Linked DNA regions of Homo sapiens: region 1 is linked to region 2. Evidence: promoter capture Hi-C in human tissues and cell types (Jung and others, 2019). All regions are on one chromosome and are shown on one strand. Each heading gives the region's core, a stretch centred on a gene start or on the middle of the fragment in contact. The rest is flanking DNA. Distances are from core to core; before and after follow the strand shown. Region 1 overlaps ZBTB44 (zinc finger and BTB domain containing 44). Region 2 holds the start of ST14 (ST14 transmembrane serine protease matriptase).

Region 1 (3,927 bases), core at 1,422-3,921, 130 kb after region 2:
ATCTCTCCCTCCCTGCTCTGCAAAATGAACTCTTTGCCCTAAACTGCTTTTGACTCATCATTTTCCATATGTATCATACATATTCCCACTCTCCCAGCTCTGGTCCCTTTTTGGAATTCCCTCCTCACTGATCTCCACAGGTCAAATTCTACTTTATTTTGTTTTCCCTTCTAAGCTAAATGTCAGGAAAGCCTTTGTTGTTTTTTTTTTTGAGACGGAGTCTCATTCTGTTGCCCAGGCTGGAGTGCAGTGGTGCAATCTTGGCTCTTGAATTGCTTGAACCTCTGCCTCCCGGATTCAAGCAATTCTCGTGCCTCAGCTTCCTGAGTAGCTGGGATTATAGGCGCGTGCCACCATACCCAGCTAATTTTTGTATTTTTAGTAGAGACAGGGTTTCACTATGTTGGCCAGGCTGGTCTCGAGCTCCTGACCTTGGGATCCGCCCACCTCGGCCTCCCAAAGTGCTGGGATTACAGGTGTGAGCCACCGCGCCCGGCCAGCCTTCCATTTTTATGTCACTTTCAGATGTACTTTCAAATATATTCTTTGGATCTTAAAATCTTAATGAAACTAAAGATGAGAAAAATAAAGATTAGAGAAAATATGGCCTAACAGGGATTCAAATTCAGAGCCTCTGACTTTAATTAAATCCTATCCTCATTTTATCATTAAACCAAGCTGTCTTTCTCTACACTGAACTCTGGTGGTAGTTCTGTTGGGACTCACTGATCCTGTGTTTGATAGCATATCAATTTAGGTTTACCAGGGTATACACTCTAATCTCTCCAAGGATTATTCCAATATATTTATGGAATCAATCACATCTGTACTTCCAGCATAGGTTCTTTAAAAATCACTTTATGAATGCTTTCCTGATATAATTCATGTACAATAAACTGCATAGTGGACAATTTGATGAGTTATAACATATATATCACCACCACAATCAAGATAAGGAATACTGCCACAATTTCTGTAAGTTTCTTTGCAGTCTCACCTTCCTGTCCTTGCCAGGAATTATCAATGTGCTTTACACTTTAGTAGCTCCATTTTCTAGAATTTTATATAAATGGGATTATATAGTATGTACTCTTTTTTTCTGGCTTCTTTCATGGACATAATTATTCTGAGATTCATCCATGCTGTTGAGCGTAAGGATTTTTGTTCTTTTTATTGCTGAATACTATTTCATTGCATGGATGTAACACAATCTGTTTATCATTTAATTGTTGATAGACTTGAGTTGTTTGCAGTTGGGCTATTACGAATAAAGCCGCTATGCACATTTGTGTACAAGATTTGTGTGGACAAACCAGCAGATGTTCTTAATTATTTCTGTTTCTATACCATTTATGTGTTATACTCTTAATATGGCTTATTATACTGCAGTGATTCCATAAAAAAAGTCACTATCCACCAGTATAATACTTTACATACAAGTGATCAGTAAGTAGTTTACAGATTTTGCTCACCCATGGGCCTAATGAGACTTGACAGAAAAGGCTGAGCCTTGTCTATATTCTATAACTGCCTAAAAGAGTACATACACTGGTATGCAACAAGATCATAAGAAAAAAATTAAAAATTAAAAAAATAAATAAAAGTGTGCATTGAAAAATTGCTGAATAAATGTTCTTGATTTACGGTGCTTATTTTTGGGATAAGCGTATTATTCTTTTATGTTCAATCACATTATTATTAAAAGCTTAATTGCAAATGATAAACAAAACATATAAATTAGTATTTTAAGAGTGTAACATACACAACATACAAACGTTTTGCAGGAAACCTGTTAAAACAATTGATTTAGGAATGGAAGAACCACAGCTCAACGTAGAAACTTCATGTTAAACTTACATGGAAAATGTATACGTGTACTCAAACTAGTGAAAATTACAACTCACCCACCCCACCAAAAGTTATTAAAATAAGACGTTTCTCACTATTAAGACTCTTTTTTACTTTACAAATAGAGCAGTACCTCATATTTTATATTTTGCTCTAAACTTGTCACTCTTATCAATCTAAGTAAAGGCATTTTCCCATGATATGAACCAAGTTTTTAGATTAGATTTACATGAGAACTCATATTTGGGAACATGCTTTTTCTTTTTCTGAACACTACTGAAAGTGTTTTGTGATCTTTATTTCACACTAGTTTACTTCCCTTAAGTGTTTTTTAAGTTTTCAAGGAGAATTTCAAATGGACTACTTTATCTGAGTTGTAAAAAGATAATTTTAGGCCTGGAACAATGGCTCATGCATATAATCCCAGCACTTTGGGAGGCCAAGGCAGGAAGCTCATTTGAGCCTAGGAGTTCAAGACCAGCCTGGGCAACACAGAGAGAACTTGTCTCTACTAAAAATTAAAAAAAAAAAAAAAAAATTAGCTAAGTGTGGTGCTGTGCACCTGTAGTCCTGGCTACACAAGAGGCTGAGGCAGGAGGATCACTTGAGCCTGGGAGGTTGAGACTACAGTGAGCTGTGATTTCACCACTGCACTCCAGCCGGGATGACAGCAAGATCTTGTATCAAAAAAAAAAAAAAAAAAGACCATTTGGCCGGGTGTGGTGGCTCACACCTATAATCCCAGCACTTTGGGAGGCCAAGGTAGGTGGATCACCTGAGGTCAGGAGTTTGAGACCAGCCTGGCCAACATGATGAAACTCCATCTCTACTTAAAGAAAAAAAAAAAAAAAAAGAAAGAAATTAGCTGGGTATGGTGGTGCACGCCGTCATCTCAGCTACTTGGGAGGTTGAGGCAGGAGAATCAGTTGAACCTGGGAGGCGGAGGTTGCCGTGGGCCAAGACTGCACCATTGCACTCCAGCCTGGGCAACAAAAGCGAAATTCCATCTCAAAACAAACAAACAAACAAACAAAAAAACCATTTTATAACTAGTTGTTTTTCAATGAAACAAAGATTCTAATCATTTTACTCTATGAATAAGCCCTTTCTAGTTCAGAGATTTGAAAAAGTAATGGAGAGTTATCAATAAATCAATTAAATCAGAAACATTAAATGATTAGAATTTCCTCTCCTTGTTAGTAGTCACCAAGTCATGCTGATTGTTACTTTCTACATCAAGAGAAGATAAATTAATGTACATTGAATAACTCCCACCAAGTGTCACTATCTCACTCTGGACTCACAAACTCTGGTAAAAGGATTTTTTATATCCAGTTATAGGCCGGGCACGGTAACTCACACCTGTAATCCCAGTACTTTGTGGGGCCGAGATGGGTGGATCTCTTGAGGCCAGGAGTTTGAGACCAGCCTGGCCAACACAGCGAAACCCCGTCTCTACTAAAAATACAAAAATTAGCTGGGTGTGGTGGTGCACGCCTGTAACCCCAGCTACTACTCAGGCGCCTGAGGCACAAGAATTGCTTGAACCTGGGGGGCAGAAGTTGCAGTGAGCTGAGATCACGCCACTGCCCTCCAGCCTGGGTGACAGAGAGAGACTCTGTCTTAAAAAAATAAAAATAAAAATAAAAATAAATCCAGTGTTAAATGAGGAGACAGAAAATCAAATTAAATTGTCCATTTCCCTATAACTAAGTTAACAAAACCAGGATTTACACAAAGGTCTATATGACCAAAAAAAAAAAAAAAAAAAAAAAAAAAAAAATCTTCAATTCCCAGTTATTTCTCCCCACCCCATTATGTTGTTGTTTATAATAATTTAACCCATTTATGCCAGAGGTTGCAATTATTTGAATTTTTGCAATCAGACCTTAGCGATGACCTTGAGCAGGACAGAAATAACTCCCACATGCTTAGTGTTCCAATAATGGAACGGTAGGCAAAACAGGTTAATCAGAGTACTTAAGGGATATCTGCTATTCACATCATATTATTTTATCTAGAAAGAAAGACTGAATAGAGGGCCTATCTATCTTATTCATCCATTTGGCTCCTTACATG
Region 2 (3,470 bases), core at 292-2,791:
TACCGCTAGCCATACTGCCATACCTAACTTCAGAGAAGAGAGAGTAACACCCTGGCCTGTGCCCAGAAGGCAGAGAGCTAAAAACATTCAATGAACAACACTAAAAAACCCCATCGGTGTCTTCGACCCAATATGCGGAAGGAGTATGAAGGAGAAGAGCTTCCAGGGGATGAAAAGCTTTATGAAAGCTGCCAAGATCAGAACGCCTGGCTGGAGAGAGGGGCTCCAAACAGGAATGCTTGGAGGCACGGTGTTAAGGGAGGACAGGGCAGAGTGTGAAGCTGGGCTAAGGAGGTTGGATTTGATCCGGGAGACACGGAAAGTCATAAAGGAGCTGTGGTTTCAGATTTACCTGACTGCTTTGTGTAGGAGAGATCAGAGGGTGGCAGCCCAGAGGCAGGAGATCTTTCTTAACCAGGCAAAGGGCTCTGAGGACTCGAATAGCGGTCTTCTAATGCGCAGGAATGGAAGGGCTATGCTTGTCAGCAGAGTCTTGATCAGATTTGGAACTAATTGGATATGAGATGTAAGCAGGGTGGAGAATCAAAGATGATTCCAGGATTTGAGCCTGGGAGAATGCTGCCATTAGAATTAGAGAAAACAGTGGAAAATGGGCAAGTCAGGGAAGGAAGATGGGGCTTGTTGATCTCAAAGCAGGGATTTTTATTTTGTTCACTCCTGTTTCCCTGTACCCAGGACAGTGCTTAGCGCCTAGTGTGTGCTTGGTAATGTTCATTGGCTACAGAATACAGTAGAACATAAATGGAGACGTCCCCAGGCGACCGCTAAGGCAGAACTGGCACTCCTTGGTGGTGTCTGTGCTGGGAGGGAGGTCTTCCTGTCTGAAGTCGTAAGATGAGACGTGCTGCCAAGAGAAAAAGCTTAGAGAAGAAAGGGATGAAACTGAAGGGAGAACTTTGGGAATCATGACATTTAGGACTAGAAAGGAGGACCGGAATCCAGGGAAAGGGGGCATTTGAGGAAGCATCAGATGCTGCAAGTGGGCGAGGGGCGTTGGGATGGCTCAGAGGGCATCTGGTGGCACAGCTCATGTCACTGGGCCTCCCCAGGGTAGCCGGGCGCAGGCCAGCAAGCGCCTCCCGCCTGGAGAACAGGAGGCTGCGTAGCCGACGGGGAGCCTGGGCCAGGGGCGGTTCTGGTTTCTGTTTGGTTTTGGGGGGTTCATAAATGCGATTTAGTCCTGTAGCAAAGTGAGCAAGGTGAAGGGGAGAGACCGGAGGCGCATGAGGGAGGAGGGAAAAGATGGTTGGCATCAAGGAGGTGGATAAAGGGCTGCCCTCCCGGGGCAGGGCCCCTGGAGGGCCGGAGGGGTGGTGAACGCCGTCGTGGTGATGGTGAGGGCCTTAGCGACCACCACCCGAGTGAGGCCCCCTCACCTTCAGGCCCAGAGCCGAGGGGAGGAGCCTCCCCCAGGGCCGGCGGGGGCGGGCAGGTGAGCCGGGCAGGTGCGCAGGCGAGCGCGGCGGGCTGGGCGGGCCGAGGCCACACCCTGAAACTACCTGCGTGGGCCGGGCCGGAGTGTGAGAGCGGAGCTGCAGCCGGAGAAAGAGGAAGAGGGAGAGAGAGCGCGCCAGGGCGAGGGCACCGCCGCCGGTCGGGCGCGCTGGGCCTGCCCGGAATCCCGCCGCCTGCGCCCCGCGCCCCGCGCCCTGCGGGCCATGGGAGCCGGCCGCCGGCAGGGACGACGCCTGTGAGACCCGCGAGCGGCCTCGGGGACCATGGGGAGCGATCGGGCCCGCAAGGGCGGAGGGGGCCCGAAGGACTTCGGCGCGGGACTCAAGTACAACTCCCGGCACGAGGTGAGCGCGGGCCGGGGACCCGGGGCGCTGGGAAGCTCCTGCCCGCCCGACCCTGCAGCGCGGCGCTGGGCTCGGCCGGCTCCCCTGGCGTGTCCGTCGGTGGCCGAGCTCTGGGCGCACAGGTGGAATTTCCTGTTCAGCGGGTGCCGGGCCGCGGGCGGGCGGGGCTGGCCGGACCTTTGGTACCGGACCGGCTGCGCCCCGCCAGGGGGAGGCGGGAAGCCCCTGGGCCTTCCTGCGCCCTCGGTCCTTTCTTTCCCTGAGTTGAAAAAAGGGGCTCCGTCTCGGCCCCTCCATGACTCTCGCGCTGTTAGTGAACATCTGGAAGAAACCAGGGGCTTGGAGTGGGGTTATTTGGGAGGAAGTGAAATTTCAGGAGGGTTTGGAGTCTCAGCCATCCTTGGCCTCTGCAGAAAGTTTCTTTCGTCTCTCTCCTTCCCCGTCAAAAGGCGCTTTGGGACCTCGCAGAGGACAACTGGGAGGCCAGGGCTTTGGCTGCCATACGGGCTGGAGCTAAGAACTCCAGAGTTGGGCTTGCCTGGGCTTCTCGAGAGGGGATGGAGCCCTTTGGGAAGGCGGCTGTATGGGAAGGGATGTGGGAACACACATGTCTTGAGCCTTTTGCGAAGTACCGAAACAGGAAGCTCTTCTTTGGCAGAAAGAACAATGAAAGACCTATTGAAAGATCTCAAAAAGATTACATGTTCCTGTATGGAGTTGGGGATGGGTCGCTAGTCACTTCATTGACGGACCCACCTAGGTGGTAGTGCCCGGGCGGGACCAGCAGCCAGGTCTCTACCCTCTCTGTCCAAGGCAGACCCCCAGGTTTCCTGGAAGGCCAGGGCATACCAGGTCAGGGCGGCGCTGAGAGGCAGGGGCTGTGTGGCAGAGAGTTTTGCTCCTCTGCAAATGATGGCCTCCCTGCCCTGCCAACCCTCACTTTCTCCCCTCCTTCCGGGTGCCCCTGGGCTCCATAGTCTCCGCCGTTGCTCCCTAAGTCAGGCCTGATTTTGGTGCTGTCTCAGATCAATTCCTTTTGTCCAAGCAGCATCCCGACCTAGGGAGCTTGCAGAAAATCAGACGCTGGGGCTTTGGAGGCTGCCTGCACCACAGACAGGACCTGGGGCTGGGCTCTGCTATTTTCTCCACTTTTCACCCTCAGCAAGGAGGAAAGCTTCCAGTGGACCTGAAGGCTTGGGCCCTTCCCCTGGCTGTGCCTGTGCCCTGCTGTGAGGCAGATTCACCTTCTCTTCCTTGCTGTAATTGCTATGTTTGTGTCCTTGCTAATTGCCTACTTGGGGTTCTAGACTCCCTGCCTCTTCAGCAGAGAACCTGCTGTTTGGAATTTGTTATTTCAGGGCAGTCCGGTGCCCCCACCCCAAGTTTGTTCTCCCTGACTTCCCTTTCTAGGACTCTCCTGCCCACACGGGGAAAGCAGGGTCTTCCTGGTCGTGTGGTCCAGCCTCCTCTCTGAGCCATCTCACCACCTGACAAGCAGCCAGGCTGGGGCTCACCTTCCACTCACCCCCAGGATCCCACATTCAGCGGACTTGTCTTGTCACCTGCAAGCCCTGGCTTTAGTTTCCCCCATCCCTGCTCATTTCCTCCTCCTCTGCGAAGCTCATTTGCTCTCTGCGCCCTTGGGCTGTT

Evidence for each region. Contacts are between HindIII fragments. The study calls those that stand out against the background at their distance.
Region 1: a fragment that was not itself captured here is called in contact with the fragment with the promoter of ST14 in region 2 in 2 of the 25 tissues and cell types used here (dorsolateral prefrontal cortex and spleen).

What each region holds. Positions count from the first base shown.
Region 1 is chr11:130,290,939-130,294,865 of GRCh38, forward strand. The region is part of intron 1 of ZBTB44 (zinc finger and BTB domain containing 44); the gene reads right to left. Among named protein-coding and RNA genes, the nearest start is that of ZBTB44, 22 kb to the right of the region's middle. The HindIII fragment of the contact is 9,295 bases long and covers 1-3,927 here.
Region 2 is chr11:130,158,241-130,161,710 of GRCh38, forward strand. It overlaps ST14 (ST14 transmembrane serine protease matriptase), which reads left to right and starts at 1,542. Exons shown (of 19, transcript NM_021978.4): 1 at 1,542-1,820. The coding sequence starts at 1,740. RefSeq lists silencers at 1,421-1,540, 1,621-1,690 and an enhancer at 2,778-3,277. The HindIII fragment of the contact is 3,998 bases long and covers 530-3,470 here.